7 separate regions of the Homo sapiens genome follow, and all the other regions are linked to region 2. The links are contacts of gene promoters, found by promoter capture Hi-C in human tissues and cell types (Jung and others, 2019). All regions are on one chromosome and are shown on one strand. Each heading gives the region's core, a stretch centred on a gene start or on the middle of the fragment in contact. The rest is flanking DNA. Distances are from core to core; before and after follow the strand shown. Region 1 holds the start of OR1I1 (olfactory receptor family 1 subfamily I member 1). Region 2 holds the start of CIB3 (calcium and integrin binding family member 3). Region 3 has its middle 6.9 kb from the start of ADGRE3. Region 4 has its middle 12 kb from the start of OR7A10. Region 5 overlaps CLEC17A (C-type lectin domain containing 17A). Region 6 holds the start of OR7A17 (olfactory receptor family 7 subfamily A member 17). Region 7 has its middle 3.7 kb from the start of SYDE1.

Evidence for each region. Contacts are between HindIII fragments. The study calls those that stand out against the background at their distance.
Region 1: the fragment with the promoter of OR1I1 here is called in contact with the fragment with the promoter of CIB3 in region 2 in 3 of the 25 tissues and cell types used here (dorsolateral prefrontal cortex, heart right ventricle and mesenchymal stem cells).
Region 3: a contact is called between a fragment that was not itself captured here and the fragment with the promoter of CIB3 in region 2, in 1 of the 25 tissues and cell types used here (dorsolateral prefrontal cortex).
Region 4: a fragment that was not itself captured here is called in contact with the fragment with the promoter of CIB3 in region 2 in 1 of the 25 tissues and cell types used here (dorsolateral prefrontal cortex).
Region 5: a fragment that was not itself captured here is called in contact with the fragment with the promoter of CIB3 in region 2 in 1 of the 25 tissues and cell types used here (dorsolateral prefrontal cortex).
Region 6: the fragment with the promoter of OR7A17 here is called in contact with the fragment with the promoter of CIB3 in region 2 in 1 of the 25 tissues and cell types used here (dorsolateral prefrontal cortex).
Region 7: a contact is called between a fragment that was not itself captured here and the fragment with the promoter of CIB3 in region 2, in 2 of the 25 tissues and cell types used here (dorsolateral prefrontal cortex and lymphoblastoid cells).

What each region holds. Positions count from the first base shown.
Region 1 is chr19:15,080,826-15,084,461 of GRCh38, reverse strand. OR1I1 (olfactory receptor family 1 subfamily I member 1) reads right to left here and starts at 2,251. Exons shown (of 2, transcript NM_001004713.2): 1 at 2,186-2,251. The HindIII fragment of the contact is 16,029 bases long and covers 1-3,636 here.
Region 2 is chr19:16,171,414-16,175,035 of GRCh38, reverse strand. It overlaps CIB3 (calcium and integrin binding family member 3), which reads left to right and starts at 1,511. Exons shown (of 6, transcript NM_054113.4): 1 at 1,511-1,611; 2 at 1,840-1,874. The coding sequence starts at 1,561. The HindIII fragment of the contact is 31,728 bases long and covers 1-3,622 here.
Region 3 is chr19:14,679,693-14,683,778 of GRCh38, reverse strand. No RefSeq gene overlaps it. Among named protein-coding and RNA genes, the nearest start is that of ADGRE3, 6.9 kb to the right of the region's middle. The HindIII fragment of the contact is 3,768 bases long and covers 62-3,829 here.
Region 4 is chr19:14,859,301-14,863,270 of GRCh38, reverse strand. No RefSeq gene overlaps it. Among named protein-coding and RNA genes, the nearest start is that of OR7A10, 12 kb to the right of the region's middle. The HindIII fragment of the contact is 3,510 bases long and covers 1-3,015 here.
Region 5 is chr19:14,599,336-14,602,848 of GRCh38, reverse strand. It overlaps CLEC17A (C-type lectin domain containing 17A), which reads right to left. Exons shown (of 14, transcript NM_001204118.2): 11 at 3,037-3,132; 12 at 2,667-2,818. It also overlaps a transcript of ADGRE3 not described here. Among named protein-coding and RNA genes, the nearest start is that of CLEC17A, 18 kb to the right of the region's middle. The HindIII fragment of the contact is 8,373 bases long and covers 1-3,513 here.
Region 6 is chr19:14,884,709-14,888,300 of GRCh38, reverse strand. OR7A17 (olfactory receptor family 7 subfamily A member 17) reads left to right here and starts at 2,169. Exons shown (of 3, transcript NM_030901.2): 1 at 2,169-2,360. It also overlaps the pseudogene OR7A18P. The HindIII fragment of the contact is 7,391 bases long and covers 346-3,592 here.
Region 7 is chr19:15,101,828-15,105,496 of GRCh38, reverse strand. No RefSeq gene overlaps it. Among named protein-coding and RNA genes, the nearest start is that of SYDE1, 3.7 kb to the left of the region's middle. The HindIII fragment of the contact is 6,045 bases long and covers 1-3,669 here.

The DNA.
Region 1 (3,636 bases), core at 1,002-3,501, 1.1 Mb after region 2:
CTCAGCCTCCTGAGTAGCTGGGATGACAGGCGAGCACCACCACGCATGGCTAATTTTTGTATTTTTAGTAGAGATGGGGTTTCACCATGTTTGTCAGACTGGTCTTGAACTCCTGACCTCATCATCTGCCCGGCTTGATCTCTCAAAGTGCTGGGATTACAGGCGTGAGCCACTGCAGCCAGCCAGGAGCCAGTTTCTTAATGCATAGGTCTTACAATAACTCCCACAGGGAGATTGTGTTAGCTACAATTTACAGTGAGCAGACTGGGGCTGAGCGAGCTGCCAGGGGCACTCAGCTTGCAAGTGCCTGATCTCGCCTTTGAATTTAGACTTATTTTCACTCTCATACTCCACTGCCTCCCTAAGAATGGCCACTCTCACCTCTTTATGAGGCATTTCGAAGCTAAATTCTGTGCTGTCAACACGTGCAAGGGAAAAATATTCAATTACAAGCATTTACACGTGTTTCTTTTCGAGACAGAGTCTCACTCTGTCACCTAGGCTAGAGTACAGTGGCACGATCTCGGCTCACTGCAACATCCGTCTCCTGGGTTCAAGTGATTCTTGTGCCTCAGCCACCCGAATAGCTGGGATTACAGGTGTGCATCACCACGCCCGATTAATTTTTGTATTTTTAGTAGAGACGGGGTTTCGCCTCTACTAAGCCTGTTGGCCAGGCTGGTCTTGAACTCCTGACCCGGTGATCCGCCCACCTTGGCCTCCCAAAGTACTGAGATTACAGGCGTGAGCCCAGTAATCTCATCATTTCAGCGCCCAGCCGATGAAAGGGGTTTTTAGGAAGGTTAGCAGCATAATCTCCTTGGTAACCCCAAGAGGCCTTCAGCAAAGCCCTATGTTAACTTTTTGAGGCTTTTTAGTGTTGGACTTGAGGTTTTTGCAATGCAATGCTTGGTTTTCTCTAGGCTGGATAGAATACTGCGATTCCCTTCCTGGCAACATATTTGTAACAGTCCTCAGTTGTTGACTTGGGTTGCATAGAGCAGCGGTTCTCAACCTTGAGCACGCTTCAGGGTCACCTGGAAGGCTTGTTAAAACACAAAAAGCGGGCCAGGCATGGTGGCTCACACCTGTAATCCCAGCACTTTGGGAGGCTGAAGTGGGAGAATTGCTTGAGGCCAGGAGTTCAAGACCAGCCTGGCAGACAAAGTGAGGCCACCCCACCCCCAATCCCGCCCTGGATCTACAAAAAATAAAACAATCTGCTGGGCATGGTGGCATGCTTCCATAGTCCCAGCTACTCAGAAGGCTGAGGTGGGAGAATCCCTTGAGTCCAGGAGTTAGAGACCAACCTGGGCAACACAGTGAGACCCCCATCTCTACAAAATAAAAAATTAGCTGGACATGGTGGCACACACCTGTTAGTCCCAGCTGCTTGGGGGGCCAAGGTAGGAGGATCTCTTGAGCCCGGGAGTGTGAGACCATCCTGGGCAACATAGGAAGATCCCTGCCTCTACGAAAATAAAATTAGCCAGGCATGGTGGTATATGTCTGTTATCCCAGGTACCCGGGAGGCTGAGGAGGGAGGATCACTTGAGCTTGGGAGGTCGAGGCTGCGATGAGCTATGATAATGCCACTGCACTCCAGACTGGGCAACAGAGCGAGACCCTGTCTCAAAAACAGAAAGAACAAACAAACAAACAAAACAATCCCCCCGCCCCCTCCCCCCCGCTCCCAAACTCATCATACACAAAAAGCTAAGCCCTTTCCCTGAAATGTCTGGTGTAAGAACCAGCACTTCTAGATAGTTTCCAGAGGATGCTGGTGCTTCTAGCCCAGGGACCACACTTGGGGAGCTGCTGCATTGGAGAAACTTGTTTCTCAAGACCTCTCCTATCTGTGCAGGTGTCCTGCAGCTGCAGACCCTCAGTGCTTTTCCTCCACATATCCTGCCACAGAGGGTCTGCCGTCTGCGTGCTTTGTCCACTCAGAGAGTCTAGACTTGGTCTCAGTCTCTTCTCTCTCTCTCGGCCTCTAGGAAGGAGACAGATTCCTCTCCCACAACCCTCCACCCCCACCCTCAGCTCAATCCTTTCCCCATCCCTCACCTGCTCACCAGGATGGCATCACCAAGGGGAGGGTCCCGGGAAGCCTCCTTCTCCACCAACTGCTAGAGGATCCCGAGGTCAGCACTAAACCCCTAGGAAGGGCATGGGGGCTACTCACCTGTGATCGCTGGGGTTAGCCTGATGTCTATGGGAAGGATTCATATGTGTACCCCCCCGCCCCCAGACTCTGCAGGTGAGTGGGGGAGCCAGGGGAACATCAGGGTATTTATAGTCTGGGGACTCTAGGAGACTTCGTCCCCATAGCTCCTTGTTAAGGAAGCGGATGCTAATTATTTTGTTTCTCCTCTGCCACATGTGACCTGTTCTTTTGGAGATGGGTGTGCTTTGGGATCATCGAGTGGGTAAGAAGAGGAAACAGTGACTAGGGATTCACTCTCACTAGGACATCTCCCTACGGTCTCCTTCCAGCTCAGGCTGAGCTTCATGGAAGCTCCCAGGCAGAGAGGTCTGGGGGGTCCCAGACTCCAGTCGGGCACTCAGATGCCTGAATCTGAGAGGTCCTTTCATTCATTGCATTATGGAAGAAACTGGCTCATTAAGGAAAGCTCCGAAGAGTATCAATCAATCAATAAATCGGTATTAAATAAATAAATTTATCAAACACTTTTTTTTGAGATGGAGTGTCACTCTTTCACCCAGCCTGGAGCACAGTGGAGCAATCTCGGCTCACTGCAACCTCCACCTCCTGGGTTCTAGCAATTCTCCCTCCTCAGCCTCTTGAGTAGCTGGAATTACTGGTGCCCACCACCATGCCCAGCTAGTCTTTGTATTTTTAGTAGAGACAGGGTTTCACCATGTTGGAAAGACTGATCTCAAACCTCAAGTGATCTGCTCTCCTCGGTCTCCCAAAGTGCTGGGATTACAGGCCTGAGCCACTGTACCCGGCCTATCAAACACTTCTTGATCACCTGCTTGGCACTGGAGTTGGACACGGTGGCTCATGCCTATAATCCTAGCTACTTGGGAGGCCAAGGTTGGAGAATCCCTTGAGCCTAGAAGTTTGAGACCAGCTTGGGCAAAACAGCAAGACCTTATATCTACAAAAAATTTAAAAAAATTAGCCAGGATTGGTGGCACATGCCCGTGGTCTCAGTTACCCAGGAGGCTGAGGTGGGAGGATCACTTGAGCCCTGGAGGTTGAGGCTGCAGTGAGCTGTGATCGCACCACTGCATTCCAACCTGGACAACGGAGTGAGACCCTGTCTCTTAAAAAAAAAATCCTTCCTATCAGCCACACAGAACGTGTGTAGGATACTTGTTGAAATTCTCCTAGGGGCTTTAGTAAATATTAGAATTACTTTCCCTAATAATATTGGCTGTTGGACTGTTGGCTCTTGGATCGTAACTCTGTGGGGAGGTCAGCTTCAAAGCAAGAACAAGGTAGACCAACTTCGCGTTGGACATATGGGGATATGAGTAGGTGCCAATCCCACTGTCATTATTTTTTTAAAATTAAAATTATTTTCAGAGGCTGGGCATGGTGGTTCACACCTGTAATCCTAGCACTTTGGGAGGCCGAGGCAGGTGGATCAATTTAGCTCAGGAGTT
Region 2 (3,622 bases), core at 262-2,761:
TGTAATTCCAGCACTTTGGGAGGCCGAGGCGGGTGGATCACCTGAGGTCAGGAGTTCGAGACCAGCCTGGCCAACATAGTGAAACTCTGTCTCTACTAAAAATACAAAACTTAGCCAGGCGTGGTGGTGGGCGCCTGTAATAATCCCAGCTACTCGGGAGGCTGAGGCAGGAGAATGGCCTGAACTCGGGAGGTGGAGCTTGCAGTGAGCCGAGATCACGCCACTGCACCCTAGACTGGGTGACAGAGCGAGACTCCGTCTCAAAAAAAAAAAATACAAAAAAAATTAGCTTGGCATGGTGGACACCTGTGGTCCCAGCTACCTGGGATGCTGAGGCAGGAGAATCACTTGAACCTGGGAGGCAGAGATTGCAGTGAACCGAGATCACACCACTGCACTCCAGCCTGGGCAACAGAGTGAGACTGTCTCAAAAAAATAAAATGTAATAAAATAATAATGTCAATGCACACCCCAGAACTTCATCTAGCTTGTTCACCATTATGTTCCCAATGCAGTGATGCAATCATGGCTCACTGCAGCCTCAAACTCCTGGGCTCAAGCAATCCTCCCACCTCAGCCTCCTGAGTAGCTGGGACCACAGGCATGCACCACCACATCCAGCTAATTTTTGTATTTTTAGTAGAGATAGGGCCTTGCCATGCTGCCCAAGCTGATCTTGAACTCCTGGCCTCAAGTGAATCTCATGCTTTGTCCTCCTAAAGTGCTGGGATTACAGGTATGAGCCACCTCGCCCAGCCAAAACCTTTTTTTTTTTTTTGGAGATGGAGTCTTACTCTGTCACCCAGTCTGGAGTGCAATGGCGGGATCTCGGCTCACTGCAACCTCCACCTCCTGGGTTCAAGCAATTCTCCTGCCTCAGTCTCTGGAGTAGCTGGGATTACAGGCATGTGTCACAATGCCAAGCTAATTTTTGTATTTTTAGTAGAGATGGGGTTTTGCCGTGTTGGCCAGGCTGGTCTTGAACTCCTGACCTCAGGTGATCCGCCTGCCTGGCCCTCCCAAAGTGCTGGGATTACAGGTGTGAGCCACCTTGCCCAGTCAAAACCTTTTTTTTTTTTTTTTAAATCTCAGATCCTGAGAATGACCCTATGAGGTAGGTATAATGTAATTTTCATCTCATGAATGAGGTTCAGAGAAGTCAGGTGACTTGCCCAGGGCCACACAGCTAGTGGGCAGAGAGCTGGGATTTGAGCTGCAGTGTGCCCATAGCCCTTCTGTATACCCTGCCTGTCTCTTGAGTGTGCCCCATAACCCCAGCCTCACCTTGTGGTGGCAGATGTGGCCTCCCCACTGAGGTCTTCTCTGTGACATCCCACAGCCCTTATCCTTACCCATGGACACATTCAGGCTGTTGTCCAGAGAGCCTGGCTGTAATTTGAGTCTCATCAAGCAGGGGGTGATGGCGTAGGTGGGTGGGTGACAGCCAGGGCAGGGAGATTTGCCCAGACACTGGTACACAACAGCCTGGCAACCCGTGTGGCCCCGAGGAAGCTGGGAGCCTTTGGGGTGCATCCCCAAGTCTGGGCTGTGGTTCACACCATGGGCAACAAGCAGACAGTCTTCACACACGAGCAGCTGGAAGCGTATCAGGTAGAGGGGGGCAGGATGGGTCCTCAGTGGGTTTGACAACTTTGGTTCCGTGGTCTGGGAAATGGGAACAGAATGCCTTCATCTGGGTGTACCGTCCGCCTGGGTTCCTGGTTCTGCTCTGTGTGTGGCAGCATCAGGCCATCTGTGTGAGTGTGGGGTGGAGGGAGGAGGCCGTGGGAGGAGGCCCCAGAGGCAGGGTTCGGGTTAAGACAACACCTCTCTCCACAGGACTGCACATTTTTCACAAGGAAGGAGATCATGAGGTCAGTCCAGGGAGGAAGGGAGAGAAGATCTGGAAAAACAACTTTCTATTCATTGCTGGAGGATATTTGCAATTTGGTGTGTGTGTGTGTGTGTGTGTGTGTGTGTGTGTGTGTGTGTGTAAGTAGTCTTTCTTTCTTTCTTTCTCTTTTCTCTCTCTCTCTCCCTCCCTCCCTCCCTTCCTTCCTTCCTTCCTTCTTTTCTTTTTTTTTGAGACAGGGTCTGTCTCTATTGCCTGGGCTGGAGTGCAGTGGTGCAATCATGGCTCATTGCAGGCTCGATCTCCCAAGGTCAGGTGATCCTCCCACCTCAGCCTCTCGAGTAGCTAGGACCACTGGTGCGAGCCACCACATGTACCTCATTTTTGTATTTTTTTATAGAGATGGGGCTCTCACTATGTTGCCCAGGCTGGTCTTAAACCCTTGGGCTCAAGCGATCCCCCTGCCTCAGCCTCCCAAAGTGCTGGGATTACAGGTGTGAGCCACCATGCCCAACTGGTATTTCCAATTTGTTGGGACTCAAATGGGGAAGGGGGGCAGGTGTGGTCAGTGGACAGAGGCAGAGATGGAGAAGCTGACAAGTCACATCTTGTCATACTGTCCCAGTCTCTAGGCTGATGAGCTTGGGCTTTCTCCCAAGGGTGGCAGGGAGCTATGGAGCATGCATGAGCAGGGGAGAGACCATCAGCACGTTAGAAAGATTCTCCTGAGGCTGGGCGCGGTGGCTCATGCCTGTAATCCCAGCACTTTGGGAGGACAAGGTGGGTGGATCACCTGAGGTCAGGAGTTTAAGATCAGCCTGGCCAACATGGTGAAACCCCATCTCTGCTAATAATACAAAAATCAGCTGGGCGAGGTGGTGGGTGCCTGTAATCCCAGCTACTCAAGAGGCTGAGGCAGGAGAATTGCTTGAACCTGGGAGGTGGAGGTTGCAGTGAGCCGAGATCACGCCACTGTGCTCCAGCCTGGGTGACAGAGCTAGACTCTGCCTCAGAAAAACAAAATGAAAGATAAAGATTCTCCTGAGACTGGGACTTGAGGCTGGGAGCCCAGGTGCAAAGTCCAGAGCCCAGTCTGGGTTGTGGGCTTGGCATTAAGATGAGGGTGTGAGGAGGTGGCCCAAGGCTGCTGCAGGTCCCTGGCGTGACCCAGCACGATGGGCACAGATGAGTATCCCACATCATCACTCGGCCTGTGGGGCCATTGCCCAGGGGCCCCGACCCATGAACTTGGAGCTATGAAACCCAAGCTGGCCAGGGTTCAGCTGCAGTGTGATCGGGGCCAAGGCCCCAGTTGTGTAGTAACAGGACATCCATTATTGATGGCCACACCTTTTACTAGTGAGCCCCATTGTTTGGGTGAGGACAGCTTGCAGGGTCACCTCGGCCATCACGATCAAATTACTGATGGGGAAACTGAGGCTCAGACAGGGCGGGGCTGATCCCAGGCTGAAGGGTAAATGCACAGAGCCCCAAGGCCCCAAGGACAGACATTTTGTCTGTCCCAAGCTTCTTGCTTATCAGATAGAATAACCAAGGCACAGAGAGGGAGAGGAGAGGAACATGCTCAGAGCCACACAGAAACCTAAACCCAGGGTATTCCCTGATGGGACCCCGACAGGGAACTGAGTGGTCAGGATGAAAGTTCTAGGTCTCCCCACCCCACCTTCATTGAGTTCCTAGTCATCATATGACCTAGGGACTCATGTCTCTCTCAGAGACAGTCCCTAGCAGCTTGGGGACCTCAGACCC
Region 3 (4,086 bases), core at 696-3,195, 1.5 Mb after region 2:
TGTGGAAGCTGCTCACCCCCATATTTATCATGTGATGTTGCAACACGGCTAATGAGAATTGTTATTTTGAACACTTTAAAATGAAGAGGAAGTGACATTCATACTCTGTGTAGCAACGTTTGAGGCAGTGGGTGAGCATGACCCAGATAAAGGTTTGAGCAATGCAGTTGATGCTCCTGGAGCTCCACCCAGTTGCTCTTCATGGTTGCATTCATTCATTTACCTGTGAGGTTTGGCTTGCACCCACGCCCAGGGCAGCCACAGCCAATGATTGATTGACATAAGGGCCTTGTATAAGGGCCCTGCCTCAAGATGGATCAACTCCATGGTGCACAGTCCAGAGCTCCCCATGGGATTAGGCTGAGGCTAGACTCTTGCTAAGACTACCTCCTTGTTCAGCTCCTTCCTCTGTCCTATCCTTCTTCAGTTCTCTTCTTCTAGGAGTAACCCCTCTGTAAGAAATCACATGCATTATAACCCCTACCCCCAAAGTCATGGGCATCCCAACCTCTATGCCTCAAAAATCATGTGCATCCCACTCCCTGCACCCAAGAAAAAAAAAATCATGTACATTTTAACCCTTATCCCTCCAACAAATCAAATGCATCCTAAACCCTGCCCCCCAGCAAATCTTGTGCATTATAAACCCCACCCAAAAATCATGTGCATTATGAAAGCTGCACTCCACTCAAAATTCGGTAAATTCTATTTTTTTTGCGGGGGGGAGGGAGCTTGTGTTGCCCAGGCTGGAGTGCAACAGCGCAATCTTGGTTTACCACAACCTCCGCCTCCCAGGTTCAAGTGATTCTCCTGCCTCAGCCTCCCGAGTAGCTGGGATTACAGATGCCCACCACCAGGCCTGGCTAATTTTTTGTATTTTTATTAGAGACAGGGTTTCGCCATCTTGCCCAAACTGGTCTTGAACTCCTGACCTCATGATCCACCCACCTTGGCTTCCCAAAGTGCTGGGATTACAGGTGTGAGCCACGGAGCCTGGCCAATTCGGTGCATTCTAATCCTCATCCCCCAAACAAATCAAGTGCATCCCAACCCTTACCCCCAACAAATCATGTGCATTACAAACCCTACCCCCAAAAAATCACATGCATCCCAACCTCTATCCCCCCAAAAAAGCATGTGCATATCAGTCTCTATCCCCCCAAAAATCACATGCATCCCAACCTGTATCCCCCAAAACCTCAAGAATCCCAACCTCTAACTCCCCAAAAATCATGTGCATTCCAACCTCTATCCCCCTAAAAAACCATGTGCATCCCAGCCTCTATCCCACACCAAAAATAATTTGCATCTCAATCTCTATCCTCACCAAAATCACAAGCATCCCAACCTCCATCACCCAAGATGAAAAGTTGAGTGTGTGACTAAGTGGATGGATGAGTGCATAAATGGGTTGGTGGATGAAAAGAAGAATAGGTCGGTGAGTGAACGGATGAAAGGTAGATGGCTGGGTGAGTGGATGGATGGATGGATGCATGGATGCATGATGGATGGATGGATTGATGATGGATGGATGGATGGATAAATGGATAGATGCATGGATGGATGCATGGATGGATGCATGGAAGGATGGAAAGGGCTATTCAGGGACATCTATGAGGTGAACCTGTGAGAAACTCTCAGAGATAACTGAGAACACACTTTTAGATTTCCAGCAAGAAAGCCCCTGGAATATTATACCACAATAATTTGGTTACGAAAAGGAATTATAATCTCATTTGTCATCACAGTTGGAAAACATTTGATTTATTCTCAGGTGCCCCACTAAGCAATGTTAGGATGGCAGAGAACTAGCAATGGCCTCTGGCTCTCTCATGGGTTCTTTGAATAAATCCTACATCACAGTACTCCTGATGGTCCAGAGAACAATACCATGCAAAGCTGGGTTCTCAAACTTAAGCATGTATCAGAATTACTTGGAAGGTCTGTTAAAAAACACTCACTGGGCTCTATCTCAACATTTCTGATTCAGCAGGTCTGGATATGGTCCAAGAATCCGCATTATTTATTTATTTATTTATTTGTTTGAGATGAAGTCTCACTGTGTCCCCAGGCTGGAGTGTAGTGGTGTGATCTCAGCTCACTGCAACCTCCACCTCCCAGGTTCAAGCGATTCTCCTGCCTCAGCCTCCTGAGTAGCTGGGATTACAGGTGCCCACCACCACTCCTGCCTAATTTTTGTATTTTTAGTAGAGACAGGGTTTCACCATGTTGGCCAGGACGGTCTCGATCTCTCGACCTTGTGATCTGCCCACCTTGACCTCCCAAAGTGCTGGGACTACCGGCATAAGCCACCACACCAGGCCCAAGAATCTGCATTTCTAACAAATTCCCAGACAATATTGATGCAACTGATCTGGGGACCACATCTTGAGAACTACTGACATAGAGAAACATGGAAATTGAAACATGGGCACCAATGACTGTGCTGAAAGTAATTTAGAAGATTCTGAATATGAAGAAGCTTCAAGAACATCTTAACAAATTTAGTTCCCGCTGCTAGTTTCTTTTGTATGCATGCAACAGAGCCATGCATGATAAATATTCATTTCTAAATAAATCTATTATAGCTCATTCAAGAATAAAATAAAAATTTATAAAGAATAATAAAGCATTGTATCATAGTTTAATGGTTAGGTGTAGTGGTACATAAAATAATGGTGTACCTTTATTTATTTATTTATTTTTGAGGTGGAGTCTCACTCTGTCACCCAGGCTGGAGTACAGTGGCACCATCTTGGCTCACTGCAACCTCAGCCTCCTGAGTTCAAACGATCCTTCTGCCTCAGCCTCCTGAGTAGTTGGGATTACAGGTGCGTGCCACCACGCCTGGCTACTTTTTTGTACTTTTAGTAGAGATGGGGTTTCGCCATGTTGGCCAGGCTGGTCTCAAACTCCTGGCCTCAAGTGATCCGCCCACCTCAGCCTCCCAAAGTGCTGGGATTACAGTCATGAGCCACCGCACCCGGCCAATGGTGTACCTTAAAATTAATAATGCTTTAGATTTGATGAAATAGGATATGAACAGAGAAATGAGAGAAGCTAACTCTATCTTAGAGGCAGGGAAGGGCACAGTGGAGAGTATAAACCAAAAGTAACTGAGACAGGTCTCAATCAATTTAGAAGCTTATTTTGCTAGGGTCAAGAACATGCCTGGAAGAAAGGAACACAGAAAAACATACTATCATCTGTTTGTTTCTCCAAAGATAATTTTGAGGGCTTCAATATTTAAGGGGGAAAAGCAGACTGGAGGGGAAAGAGGGAGAGTTTGGTCACATTACTGAACCAATGTGTTGCCAGAGATAAAAGGAGCAGGTGGGGGACTAGTCAATGATGTATTCACCTTGTGCTCAGTAAATCGGCACTTTATGTAAGATAAAATGAATATACAGTAGCTACCTGTGAAGATATCTGGCCTTTTATCTGTAGCTGTCTGCTTGACTCCGCTTTCAGCTTAATTTTATTCCTGAATTGGAGTCCTGAGACTTTATTTTCCTTTCACAAGAGTTTATCATGGAAGGACATGCAAAAGAATGCCACTTGAAGGACGTGGCCAGGAGTAGAGTGGCAAGAAAGAAAAAGAAAGGGCATTCCAGGTGGGGCACAGTGGGTCACACCTGTAATCCCAGCACTTTGGGAGGCCAAGGCAGGCAGATCACTTGAGACCAGGAGTTTGAGACCAGCCTGACCAACGTGAGGAAATTCCATCTCTACTAAAAATACAAAAATTAGCCAGGCATGGTGGCGGGTACCTATAGTCCCAGTTACTCAGGAGGCTAAGGCAGGAGAATTGCTTGAACCCGGGGAGCGGAGATTGCAGTGAGCCAAGATCATGTCACTGTACTCCAGCCTGGGTGACAGAGTGAGACTTTGTCTCAAAAAAAAAAAAAAATGGGGGGGCATTCCAGGTTGAGAGAATCACATGTACAAAGGCATGAAAGGCTACAAATAGAATGTGGAGTTTAGGGAAACAGAAAATGTATCAGGGAAGGTGGAAAGGCTGAAGCAGAAGGGTAGGAAATGAGGCTGGAGAAGTGGAGTGGGACCAGAGTGGGGTGAGATTTATGC
Region 4 (3,970 bases), core at 11-2,510, 1.3 Mb after region 2:
GTTTTTTTGTCCTTTGTCATTTTCCAACTTTTGCAAAGTTATTCCCAGACTAGGGTCAGAAACAAGGTGGAGATTCCTATCCGTCTCATGCAGTAATGAGTTGTGTTAGCCCAAATAATTAAGAATGGCCACTCTAAGGTCATTAATATAATTTTACTGTGGATGCCTAGCTGAGACCACAGGTTTTCATTTTTCCATTTGTTATTTCTTTCTCTGTCACTGCCTTAACTGGTCCTCCTCACAATGTAAATTTTAATATACTAGTGTGTTTTATAGCTACTCCTGGAATTTTATTCTCTTCCTTAGGATCCTGTCTTCTATTCTGCTTGGTGTCTACAGTGCCCTCTATATTCCCTGGTAAAAAGAAGGAGGACAAAAATTGCTTATTTTTTATTTTTTTATTTTATTGATTGGTTGATTGATTTTTGAGACAGAGTCTCGCTCTGTCTCCCAGGCTGGAGTGCAGTGGCGTGATCTTGGCTCACTGCAAGCTCCACCTCCCGGGTTCACGTCATTCTCCTGCCTCAGCCTCCCGAGTAGCTGGGACTACAGGCGCCCGCCACTACGCCCGGCTAATTTTTTGTATTTTTAGTACAGACGAGGTTTCACTGTGTTAGCCAGGATGGTCTCGATCTCCTGACCTCGTGACCCACCCACCTCGGCCTCCCAAAGTGCTGGGATTAAAAATTGCTTATAAAATACATGTTCCAAGTGTAAACTAAACAGAAAGACAAGTGAGCATACATAAATTGACTTCATCTGGCCTTAAGACTCAGCAATTACCTTCAATATGACAGAATAAAACTTTCAGTCACATATGGAATTACTGTGGAACATTTGAAGCATACAAGCTTAGTGTCCATGTGTAATGAAGTTTGTGCATCTGAGAGATTTGGTGTCATAGTCCATATAATTTTATTGTATTAGCTTCCTCATTTTACTTAAAATTTTCCAGTGCTACCTATAAATACGACTCCTTCCATTGTACTAACAAATATCTTCCCCTTTAAAAATTGTGTCATAAACATTAAAGTGCAGATAAGTGAACAATATGTGTGCTTCATTTATCAGCAGTTGCTTTATATATTTTATACTCTGAACTCTCTTCAACTCTCACGATCAAAGGAATACACACACATGAACTTGGATTTCTGCCTATTATTGCCTCTGGGAATAGAAACTTGTGTGAACCAAGGTCACAATTCATTCCTTCAAAAACATATATGTCCTTGCAAGCTTTCCTGGCTGCCTAGAAAAAAAGGAAACAATACTCTCGTTTTAATACAATTATCTGACATAAGCATCAATATCCAGGTAATCATTAATGCTGCCTCAAATATAAGAACCAATGTTAAAAACTAAGAAGCATTAGAATATTTTGAATGTCTTTAGATCTGTTTGCACTGTTTATTGTATCAGTAAGCTACTGCTGCATAATAAGCCATCCCATTAGTCAACGGTTTAATGTCCTGCTTTTTTATCACATAGGAGTTTATGTTGGGAAAGTTTTTCATTGGGATTAGGACATAGGGATTTTGAAGAGGACAAAATATTCCATCCATGCGACTATCCAAATCTAGTTAGTTTTTGAATTTTGAATAGGAAGGACAGTTTGACAGAGGAAGATCAAGAGAAGTGGTGGAAACTCACAAGGCCTCTTACAACTTCTTCATAGACATTGGACTTCTCATGAATGCGCACATTCTTTCAGACAAAGCACATCACATATCTATGCTCCACATCAACCACTGTAGGGATATACATGCCTCCCAATTGAGGTATTAGCAAAGCCCCGAGCCAAAGGTGGAGAAACACAATATTCCCAAAGACAATAGGGGAGTTAATAAATAAGTAAAAATTAAATTTACTGGCATGAGAAACAGACTTGCAAGAATTTCATACTTATGTCCACATTAAATGTTAATGAATGATGTGCTATAAACTTGCAATAAAGTAAGTGTTCTATGAAGAATTAAAGGAGTTCTTATAAGACTTCCTACAAGAATTGAAGGAGTAATTTGATGAACTAAAGACATAGTCAAGAAGAGCTGACATATCCATTGAGCATCTGCTCTGTGCAAGGTAATCTCCAATGAGCTTCAAAATATTGCTTACTTCTCACATAAACTCCATAAGTAGATGGAATTTTTTTTTGAGACAGAGTCTCACTGTGTCACCCAGGCTGGAGTGCAGTGGCACGATCTTGGCTCACTGCAACCTCTGCCTCCTGAGCTCAAGTGATTCTCCTGCCTCAGCCTCCCAGGTAGCTGGGACTACAGGCACGTGCCACCACGCCCAGCTAATTTTTGTATTTTTAATAGAGACTGGGTTTCACCATATTGGCCAGGCTGGTCTTAAACTCCTGACCTTGTGATCCACCCACCTCAGCCTTCCAAAGTGCTGAGATTACAGACGTGAGCCACAGCGCCCAGCCAGTAGATGGAATTTCTAAAGGTTTCATTTTCTTTCATGAGAGAAGCACACAAGAGGCACATGCAATCTTTATTTATGCAAAAGCTGACCTGCCCAGTCCAACACTGACCACCTGAAGTCAAATATGAGGTGTGTGGTAGGATTCTTGCTGGAGAAGATCTCGAAGTACTAATTGACTCTAACACTGGACCATAGCCTTGATCCTCAAAGAGTGAACCACCCAACAGGTCAGGGAGCATCAACATCAACGGGGAAACCATTACACATGTAGAATGTCTGGACCTATCCTAGAGGCCCCATATGAGAATCTACATTTGAACAAGATCCCTAATTGAATCATACACACATTGAAGTTGGACATATTCTGGACAGAATAGCCTTTCAACCTCTCTAGTGTTAACATTTTTACTGCTTAACTTTCTGTAGTGTGGGCTGTCCCGTTAGTTGTAGGATGTTGAGAAACATCTCTGGATTATTTTTCATAATCACTTGAAAAAATATTATTTCATAGGTCAAATTAGGATTACTCAAGAGTTTTTAATTGCAATTATTTCCTTTCTGCTGAGGCTGAGTATACAGCATTTGTTGGTTTGTTAGCCATTTACTTTCTCTATTGCAGATTTTGCAGGTTCTTTGCTTTTATGTTCTAGAGTGTGAGTGTTTTTATTCTTTTGATTGCATTCATTCAAATGAAGAATTAGAGATTTTTCACCAAGTTTGCTGAATAATAGTTAATTTTTTATGTATGTATAGATGTACATCAAGGGATTGTGTAAAAAAAAAAAAAAATATATATATATATATATATATACAGGATGAAGAAAAGAAAGTTTATAAACTTTGTTTTATAAACTTTGTCAAATCTCTCAGTTGGTCCTATCATGAACCCACACTCTCCAATTTTTCTTAACTTAGAAAATTCTTCTGCATCTTTAGTAGAAGTAAATCATATGTATTTCCACCTTATTTTATAACCCTTTTTCCTTATAGCTACCTTTTTGTCTTTTTTGATGAGATCTTTTAAAATTTAGTTTTAAATTTAATTTTTGATGGACCAATAGTAACTGTATATATTTATGAGGTACAACGTGATGTTATGATATATGTATACACTGTTGAATGATTAAGTGGAGCTAATTAACCTATCCATCACCTCACATATCTATCATTTGTTTGTGGAAAGAACATTTAAAATTTAATATTTTAGCAATTTTGAAATATATAGTACATTATTCTCAACAATAGTCACCATGTTGTGCAATGGAGCACTAGAAATTATTCCTCCTGTCCAGCTGAAACTTTATAGCCTTTGACTAACATTTTCCTTTTTGTATCGACCCTGTCCTCACCCCTATCCTCTGGTAATGTCCATTCTACTCTATACTTCTATGAGTTTTAATTTTTTATATCCCAGGTATATGTGAGAACACAAAGACTTATTTTTTTAATATTAGTCTTCTTCTGCTATTTTATGGAACAAGTTCAAGCAGAAGGAGATAAATGTATGAAGACATTGAGCATTGAAGCTCTGGCTTCT
Region 5 (3,513 bases), core at 771-3,270, 1.6 Mb after region 2:
CGGGAGAATCACTTGAACTCGGGAGGCAGAGGTTGCAGTGAGCCAAGATCATGCTGCTGCACTCCAGCCTGGGCAACACAGCAAGACTCCATCTCAAAAAAAAAAAACTGTTTAACTACTCATACAAATAATGCTATGAAACAGAGGGATAAAAAACAGAAGGGACACGACATACAGGAAAATAATAAGATGATAGACCTAAATCCAACCCAATCAGTAATTATATTAAATGTAAACGGTCTAAAAATACCAATTAGGCTGGGTACAGTGGCTCATGCCTGTAATCCCAGCACTTTGGGAGGTGAAGGCGGCAGATCACTTGAGGTCAGGAGTTCCAGACCAGCCTGGGCAACATAGCAAAACCTCATCTCTACAAAAAATGTTAAAAATTATCCAGGCATGGTGGCACACACCTGTTGTCCCAGCTACTTGGTGGGGAGCTGAGGTGGGATAATCACTTGAGCCCAGGAGGCCAAGGCTGCCATGAGCTGAGGCTGCGCCACTGCACTCCAGCCTGGGTGACAAAGTGAGACCCTGTCTCCAAAAATACATAAATAAGTAAATGAAAACACCAATTAAAAGCCAGAGATTATCAGATCAGATTTTAAAAATCCAAACCCAACTATATACTGTCTGGGAAAAAAAAAACATTTTAAATATAATGACATAAATAAATTAAAAATAAAATGAATAGAAAACATAGAGCCTAGGCAACATAGCAAGACCCTGTCTCTACAAAAGTAAAAATAATTTGCTGGGCCAGGCGCGGTGGCTCATGCCTGTAATCCCAGCACTTTGGGAGGCCGAGGCAGGCAGATCACCAGGTCAGGAGATCGAGACCATCCTGGCTAACACAGTGAAACCCCGTCTCTACTAAAAATACAAAAAATTAGCTGGGTGTGGTGGCGGGCGCCTGTAGTCCCAGCTACTCGGGAGGCTGAAGTGGGAAAATGGCGTGAACCCGGGAGTCAGAGCTTGCAGTGAGCCGAGATCGCGCCACTGCACTCCAGCCTGGGTGACAGAGCGAGACTCCATCTCAAAAAGTAATAATAATAATAATAATTTGCTGGGTACAGTGGCAAGTGCCTGGTTGTCCTAGCTACTCAGGAGGGTGAGGCGAAAGAATTGCTTGAGCCTAGGACTTTGAGGCTGCAACGAGCTATGATTATACCACTGCACTCCAGCTTGAGTGACAGAGTGAGACCTTGTCCCTGAAAAACAGAAAAAAGGAAACATAAACCATACTATAGTCCTATGTCTATGGTCAAGACCATGGACTTGAAAGCCGGCTACCTAGGCTTAAATCCCACTAGCTGTAAGTGACTCCAGGCAAGTTGCTTACATGTACTGGAACCTTGACTTCCTCACCTGTGAAGTACAGATGATACATATTGTGTACAAATAGTAATACTACCTAAATTGTAGTAGCAAATCATTAAAGCTATTTACCCATATTCCAATCCTCCTTCTGGTTGCACGGAGGTGAGACTTATTTCCCTACCACCTTAAAAGATAGGCGTGTACATGTGACTTTTGTGAGCAAAAGTAAATGGAAACTCTGACAGTCAATGTATGATTTCCCTCGTCTACTTTCACCATTGGACTATGGAGACTGTCTGTTACCGCAGCATAAAGTAACCCCTCCTAGCCCAGCGTGGTGGCTCACACCTATAATCCCCGCACTTTGGGAGGCAGAGGTGGGAGGATCACCTGAAGTCAGGAGTTCGAGAACAGCCTGGCCAACATGGAGAAACCTCATCTCTACTAATAATACAAAAGTTAGCCAGGCGTGGTGGCACATGCCTGCAATCCCAGCTACTCGGGAGACTGAGGCACTAGAATTGCTTGAACCCGGGAGGCAGAGGTTGCAGTGAGCCAAGATTGCACCACTGCACTCCAGCCTGGGTGACAGAGTGAGACTCCATCTCAAAAAAAAAAAAAAAAAAAAAAAAAAAAAGAAGGCCGAGCGTGGTGGCTCACGCCTGTAATCCCAGCACTTTGGGAGGCCGAGGCGGGCAGATCACGAGGTCAGGAGATCAAGACCATCCATCCTGGCTAACACAGTGAAACCCTGTCTCTACTAAAAATACAAAAACAAAATTAGCCGGGCGTGGTGGTGGGCACCTGTAGTCCCAGCTACTCAGGAGGCTGAGGCAGGAGAATGGCGTGAACCCGGGAGGCGGAGCTTACAGTGAGCCAAGATCCAGCCACTGCACTCCAGCCTGGGTGAAAGAGCGAGACTCCATCTCAAAAAAAAAAAAGAAAAGAAAAGAAATAAACTCTTCCGACTGGCATACTAATGTATAGGTTGTCGTGAGGATTGCATGTGTTAATGACTGTAAGATGTAAAGTATTTGGAATGCAACCTGAAACATAAAAAGTGCTACCTAACAGATATTAATTATTGTATTTTCATGTTAGAGATAAAACCGATACTTGAAATGTACAGAGGTTAAATCAACACAACCAGAATTTGAACTCAAAAACAAAGCATGTCTTCTTAACCTCTGCATGATACTACCTTAGGAAGAGCTTGCTGTTAAAGTTTTAGTAACTGAAAAGTAATTCTAATTTCTTGCCATCCAGGGAAGGGAGGGATGTGTGCATCCTGGAAGAGAAGCAGGCTGTCCCTGAAGGTTCTCAAAGGTTCAGTGGGAAGAACTCACGTGCTCAGCAAAGCTATTGATGATGACCAAGTGAGAGTAATTCTCCTGGCAGAACATCCGGGCCTCATCCCATGACTTGGTGCTTGGGGAGAAGTAGTAACACTTGCCCTCAAAGGGCAGCCAGCCTTCAGGACAGGTAATTCGGCGGCAGTCTGGGAACCAGACAGAATGCTGTCAGGATGGCCCCAGAACCTGAGCCATGTACATAGTATGCCATGTACAGTTGTGCAGGCTGTACACTGCTCAACTCCGGTGAGGGGGAGGGGCACCATTCACATAGACTGCACTGAGAATGACTTCAATGGAGTGATGTAATGTGCCAGCTCTGCCATGCCCCCCATCCCTGGGCAATTCCCCAAGTCTCACTTACCTAATAAGCCCCAAAGTTCCACCAGGGACTGGTTGGTGTCAGCTCTTACACGGGCAATGTCATGCTTCAGGCCAGCTAGCCCTGCCATGCCAGTCACTGTCAGAAGGGATGGGCTTGAGGGCTACAGACTGAGAACCCATCCTACCCATCCACCACGGACTGCAGACACATCAGAGAGAGAAGCAAGGGTTGTGTTCCCCACTGTGTCCACATTCCAGTGGGTCACGCTTGCGCTCAAAAACCACATGTACAGTGCTCAGAATCCGAGAATGGCTCAGAGGAGGGATCAATCCCGGGGATGTGGGGAAAAGTAGGGGTGGTGGGCACCCTGAAAGAAGTGGGTTTTAAAGGAAGAAAGTGATTCGATAACTGTGAGGTGAGGAAGAGGCACATTAGGCAGGGACTATCTTAAAAGCAAAGATGCAGGCTGCCCATGGTGGCTCACACCTGTAATCCCAGCACTTTGGGAGGCCGAGG
Region 6 (3,592 bases), core at 920-3,419, 1.3 Mb after region 2:
TATTTTTACCACATGCTATACTCTGGCAATGAGGAAGATAAGATTTCTATTAATAGTTGGAGTTTCCAGAAGAGCTGGAGAAATAAATTGACGCAACAAGAATTATCAGAATTACAGATATTCCCAAGATTAAAAGATAGCAGAGCAGGTTATAAGAGTCTAAAAATGAACATACTCATGCATGTATCTTGGTAATAGAATGATTTCTATTCCTTTGGATATTTACCCAGTAGTGGCATTGCTGGATCAAATGGTATTTCTGGTTCTAGATCTTTGAGGAATCACTACACTGTCTTCCACACTGGTTGAACTAATTTGCATTCCCACTAACAGTGTAAAAACATTCTTATTTCTCTGCAACCTTGCCAGCATCTGTTTCTTGACTTTTTAATCATTGCCATTCTGACTGGCATGAGATGGTATCTCATTGTGGTTTTGATTTGCATTTCTATAATGATCAATGATATTGAGCTTTTTTTCATATGTTTGTTGGCCACAGGAATGTCTTCTTTTGAGAAGTGTCTGTTCATGTCAAAGACATAGAATCAACCCAAATGCCCACCAGTGATAGACTGGATAAAGAAAATGTGGTACATATACCCCATGAAATACTATGCAGCCATAAAAAGGAACAAGTTCATGTCTTTTGCAGGAACGTGGATGAAGCTGGAAGCCATTACCCTCAGCAAACTAACGCAGAAACAGAAAATCAAATACCACATGCACTCACTTATAAGTGGGACCTGATCAATGAGAACATATAGACATAAGGAGGGGAACAACACACACTGAGCCCTGTTGGGGGGTGGGGTGGGGGGGAGGGAGAACCTTAGGAAAACTAGCTAATGCCTGTGGGGCTTAATACCTAGGTGATGGATTGATAGGTGCAGCAAACCACCATGGCACACGTTTACCTATGTAGCAAACCTGCACATCCTGCATATGTACCCCAGAACATAAAATAAAATAAAAGGAGTCTAAACATTTTTAATGTGAATTTTTGGAGCCAGGCAGAGGAGGACAGAGAAGATGTCCCTGAGTATAATAAAGCAGACGTGGAAGGACACTCATGCAATCTCCTCCCCGTGTGGACCCCTGGAAGCAGGTGTCCCTTCATGATCACAAATTTCTGTCTCCGAGAAGCAAGGCATGTCCTTTCCCAAGAAACTTTTCCAGAATCACAAACTTTTCCTACTCTTTGCAGGGATGAATGTATTTCTGCAGACTGTGATGGCCTATGACCACTTTGTGGCCATCTGTCACCCCCTGCACTACAGGGTCATCATGAATCCTGGGATCTTTGGACTGTGGGTTCTGGTGTCCTGGAGCATGAGTGCCCTGAATTCCTCACTGCAAAGCAGAATGTGTTGCAGCTGTCCTTCTGCACAAACTTGGAAATCCCCCCATTTTTTTCTGTGAACTTAATCAGTTGATCCTGCTTGCCTGTTCTAACACTTTTTTTTTTTTTTTTAGTGAGATGGAGTTTTGTTCTTATTACCCAGGCTGGAGAGAAATGGCGCCATATTGGCTCACTGCAACCTCCACCTCCCGGGTTCAAGCAATTCTCCTGCCTCAGCCTCCTGCATAGCTGGGATTACAGGCAACTGCCACCACACCCGGCTAATGTTTTTGCACTCCAGCTCAGGTGATACAACAAGACTCCATCTCAAAAAAATATATATATGAAATTCTAATGTTTTGGCAAAAGCAACATGAAGCCAAGAAATGTAGTACCCATGGTTTTATATGAACAGAACACAGTTCATCTCCTTGCAAAGGTAAATTGCCATTTTCTGGATATGTCAAGAGCTGAGTTTCCATCACAAGCCAGTGCTTTGGAGACTCAAGGGACCTAGTCAAGACAGGTTCCTCAGTTTAGACTTTGGAGGAAATTTTCACTGAAGGCTGGGAGAAGGTGCTAGGAGAATGGGACTCTGGAAGCCAAGGAAGTCCACGGGGAAGGAGTAATAAAGCCTGGATACACCTCACTTTTAACATAGTGTCTTGGGAATAGACGATACAGAAAAAAAAAACAACAATGACATTTGTTTCAGTGCAGGGCAACGTCCCCCAGGAAACTGATGTGTTCAGAGTTGGAATAACAGGAGGAAAGGTATCTAATCAGCAGATATACGAAGCCATAAATATCTCCTCTGCTGCAGTCCCTCAGCATATGCAACCTTGGGCTGGAAATGACATGGTGGTTTCATTTGGAGTCCTTAGTCTGGCTCAAGTATAGATGATGCTTCAACTTTTCCTGATGCCTTGTCTTGAGACAGAGATTCCATCTCCACCATCAACCTGCTAGAGAGGAATTTACACTTCTCCATGGAGACCTTCCTTTCAGAAAACTCAGTAGGGTAAGTCCCAGAGCCCAGTGGGTACTGTAGGAAAGGTCAGGAAGAACAAGAGCCGTGAATATTAACCTGAGGTCACCTGAGAGCCAATCATTTCCTCCAGCTTTGTTCCTTTTGCTTAGAAATGTCTTGGCTATACGGGCTATTTTTTGGTTCTATATGAAATTTAAAGTAGTTTTTGTAACTCTGTAAAGAAAGTCAATGTTAGCTTGATGGGGATAGCATTGAATCTATAAATTACTTTGGGCAGTATGGCCATTTTCAAGATATTGATTCTTCCTTTCCATGAGCATGGAATGTTTTTCCATTTGTTTGTGTCCTCTCTTATTTCCTTGAGCTGTGGTTTGTAGTTCTCCTTGAAGAAGTCCTTCACATCCCTTGTAGGTTATATTCCTAGGTATTTTATTCTCTTTGTAGCAATTGTGAATGGGAGTTCACTCATGATTTGGCTCTCTGTCTATTATTGCTGTATAGGAATGCTTGTGATTTTTGCACATTGATTTTGTATCCTGAGATTTTGCTGAAGTTGCTTATCAGCTTAAGGAGATTTTGGGCTGAGACGATGGGGTTTCCTAAATATACAATCATGTCATCTGCAAACAGAGACAATTTGACTTCCTCTCTTTGTATTTGAATACCCTTTACTTCCTTCTCTTGCCTGATTGCCCTGGCCAGAACTTCCAACACTATGTTGAATAGGAGTGGTGAGAGAGGGCACACTTGTCTTGTGCCAGTTTTCAAAGGGAATGCTTCCAGCTTTTGCCTATTCAGTATGATATTGGCTGTGGGTATGTCATAAATAGCTCTGATTATTTTGAGTTATGTTCCATCAATACCTAGTTTACTGAGAGTTTTTAGCATGAAGGGGAGTTGAATTTTATCGGAGGACTTTTCTGCATCTATTGAGATAATCATGTAGTTTTTGTCATTGGTTCTATTTATGTGATGGATTACATTTATTGATTTGCATATGTTGAACCAGCCTGGCATCCCAGGGATGAAGCCGACTTGATGATGCTGGATAAGCTTTTTGATGTGCTGCTGGATTCAGTTTGCCAGTATTTTACTGAGGATTTTCACATTGATGTTCATCAGGGATATTGGCCTGAAATTTTCTCTTTTTTTGTTGTGTCTCTGCCAGGTTTTGGTATCAGGATGATGCTGGCCTCATAAATTGAGCTGGGGAGGAGTCCCTCTTTTTCCATTGTTTGAAATCGTTTCAGAAGGAGTGATAC
Region 7 (3,669 bases), core at 1,124-3,623, 1.1 Mb after region 2:
TGGTCTCAAGTGATCTGCCCGCCTTGGCCTACCAAGTAGCTAGGATTACAGACCTGAATCAAGGTAGTGGCCCTGACTACCCTAGTTTATGTTGTCAGGAGCTTCTAAGTCTGTGTCACAGGCATGTCCATAACCTTGGCAAAATAAGCTTTCTAAATTTATTGAGACTTATCTGAGATACCTTTTGGTTTACATGATGCTCACAGATGCTGTGGTTCAGTTTGGACAGGGGAGACTTAGGCTAGAGGGTGACTAAAAAATGGCAGGGTCCTGAGTCATCTGGAGGTGTCTTCACTCAGAGGTCTTGCAACTGACGCCAGCTGTTGCTGGGGCTGTGGACCAGGGTAGCTACACAGGCCTCTCCGTGTGGTTCGGGTTTCCTTCCAGCATGGTGGTCTTGGGGTAGTCAGACTTCTTAGACAGCCACCCAGCCCTCTAAAAGTGAACAAGGAAGAAGTTGCATCTCTTCTGACCCAGCCTTGAGTGTCATGCTGTGTCACTTCTGCCACCAGATTCAAGGAAAGGGGGCACAGATTATACCTCTCTACATGGGAGGCATGTCAAGGTGACATTGTACAAGTGGATGTAGGGTGGGAGATATTGTGGCCATCTGGGAAAATATAACCTGTCTTAGCCCTACATTTCATTCTCCATATATTACCCACAGTGGACTTAAAACTGAAATCAGATTGTGGCACCATCCTGCTGAATAGTGTTCCTATGACTGCTCACCTCACCTAGAATAAAATTCAGATTCCCAGCATGGTCTCACAAGACTTCCAGCCTCATCTCTTTGGCTGTCCCATTCACTCACCATGGCCTCCTTTCTGGTTCTCCTTCATATCAAGCTATTTCTGCCTCAGGTCCTTTGCACACATGGTTCCTTCTGCCTGGGAAGCCCTGGTTCTTCTGAGGCCACCTCTCTCTCATCCTTTAGGTCCAATGGCACCTTCTAGGGAGACCCTTTCTGTCCACCACCTCTGTCTAGTCAGTATCACATTACTCAGTTTCCTTTCTTCTAACACTTGCCACAACTTGAATTTAACAGTCCCAGTGGTTTGTTCTAGTTTATCTGCCTCCTCGTCCAGACTGGGTCTCCACCAAGTGATCAAGTGATGCTTGTCTATGTTGTTCACTGCTGAATATTCAGGTAGGAGATCAGGTGTCAGGTGATGGAGGTCTGTATAGGAGGGGGTGTCCAAGAGGCCTGGACGAGGAGGCTGTGTGTGTTTGGTTTTAATGTGTCTTTGTGTGGTTCTCTGTGTTTATTGTACTTGGAGTTTGTTGAGCTTTGTGGATATGTAGATTCATGTCTTTCATCAATTCTGGGCTTCTGGGAAGTTTTTTGGCCATTATTTCATCAAATATTATTATTATTATTTTTTGAGATGGAGTCTCACTCTGTTGCCCAGGCTGGAGTGCAGAGGCATGGTCTTGGCTCACTGCAACCTCTGCTTTCTGGGTTCAAGTGATTCTCCTGCCTCAACCTCTCAAGTAGGTGGGGTTACAGGTGCCTGTCACCATGCCCAGCTAATTTTTGTATTTTTAGTAGAGATGGGTTTTCGTCATGTTGGCCAGGCCGGTCTCAAATTTCTGACCTTAAGTGATCTGCCCACCTTGGCCTCCCAAAGTGCTGGGATTATAGGCATGAACCACCATACCCAGCCTCATCAAATATTCTTTCTGCTCCTTTCACTTCTCTCCTTCTGGGACTCTCATTATGCATATATTGGTATACTCATTATACAACTGTTGATATACAGTTCTCCTAGGTGCTGTTCACTTTTCTTGGATATGTGTGTTTGGGGGGCATCAGTCTGTAAAAGGGTGGAGTGCACCCTCCTCCCTATGAGATCCCTGCGCAGATGTCTTTGAGGCAGCTATTGACAATGGGGAAAGAAGTCAGGGGTCAAGACAATACCTGTTTACAAGTTGAGGGTAGAGGCTGCAGGACTAAGGTCCCAATGGGGTATTTCAGAGTCTCAGAGGAGCTGGGGTCTGACATGGGAGTGAGAGCAACCCTTAGCCCCACCCATATGACACCCACATACCACATAAATATTTATTATTATTATTTTGTGTAAATCTTTTTGAGTTTTTGTACTTTTCCTGTTGTCTTTATTTGCCTGCATGTAGCCTATTTAATTCACCATTGGCTCTGATTCTTTCTTAGCAATCAGAAATTTCCATAAGTGAGAACAGATTATCTGCAAATTGTATGTAATGAAATGGTTATGAATTCTAAGTTTCATAATGATGTTTGTATGCTTATTCCTGTGGATTTTGCTAGTTGCTGTACAGATTTTAGAGCCTGTATGCGTACATTTTCTTTTCTTTTCTTTTATAGAGACATAGTCTTGCTTTGTTGCCCAGGCTGGAGTGCAGTGGCACGATCTTGGCTTACTGCAACCTGTGACTCCCTGGTTTAAGCGATGCTGCTGCCTCAGCCTCCTGAGTAGCTGGGATTACAGGCACACACCACCACGTGCAGCTAATTTTTATATTTTTAGTAGAGATGGGGTTTCACCATGTTGGCCAGGATGGTCTCGATTTCCTGACCTTGTGATCCATCCACCTTGGCCTCCCAAAGAGCTGAGATTACAGGGGTCAGCCACCGTGCCTGGCCCATTTTCTTTTCTTTTAAAAAAATTTATTTTCATGGCCGGGCACTGTGGCTCATGCCTGTAATCCCAGCACTTTGGGAGGCTGAGGCGGGTGGATCACGAGGTCAGGAGTTCAAGACTAGCCTGGCCAAGATGGTGAAACCCCGTTTCTACTAAAAATATAAAAATTAGCTAGGCATGGTGGCAGGCACCTGTAATCCCAGCTACTCGGGAGGCTGAGGCAGGGGAATCGCTTGAACCCAGAGGGTAGAGGTTGGAGTGAGCCAAGATCGTGCCACTGCACTCCAGCCTGGGTGACTAAGACTCTGTCTCAAATTTTTTAAAAATTATTTTCATGTTATTTTTATTTACTTTATTATTATTATTTTATTTATTTTTCTTGCTCTGTTGCTCAGGCTGTAGTGCAGTGGCACTACCACAACTCACTGCACCCTCAACCTCCTAGGCTCAAGTGATGTTCCTGCCTCAGCCTCCCAAGCAACTGGAACTACAGGCATGTGCCACCATGCCACAGGCTGATTTTTCTATTTTTTTGTGGAGATAGGGTCTCATCATGTTGCCTAGACTGTTCTCAAACTTCTGGGCTCAAGTGATCTTCCCACTTTGGCCCCCCAAGTGGCTGGGATTACAGGTGTGAGCCACCGTGCTTGGCCTTATTATTTTTAGAGACATAATCTCCCTCTGTCACCCAAGCTGGTGTGCATTGGTGTGATCATAGCTCACTGCAGACTTGAACTTCTGGGTTCAAGCAATCCTCTTGCCTCAGCCTCCTGAGTGGCTAGGCCTATAGGCATGCACTGCCATACCCAGCTAGCTTTTAAATTTTTTTTGTAGAGACAGGATCTTGCTATGTTGCCCAGGCTGGTCTCAAACTCCTGACCTCAAGCGATCCTTCTTCCTTGGCCTCTCAAAGTGCTGGGATTACAGGTGTGAGCCACTGCACCTGGCCACGTGTGTGTTTTCTTTCCCCTAAATGTTCTCATTGGCTGCAGGTCTGATGTGCTGTGCTTTTGGTACCTGGTGGATTAACCAGCCCCAGACACAT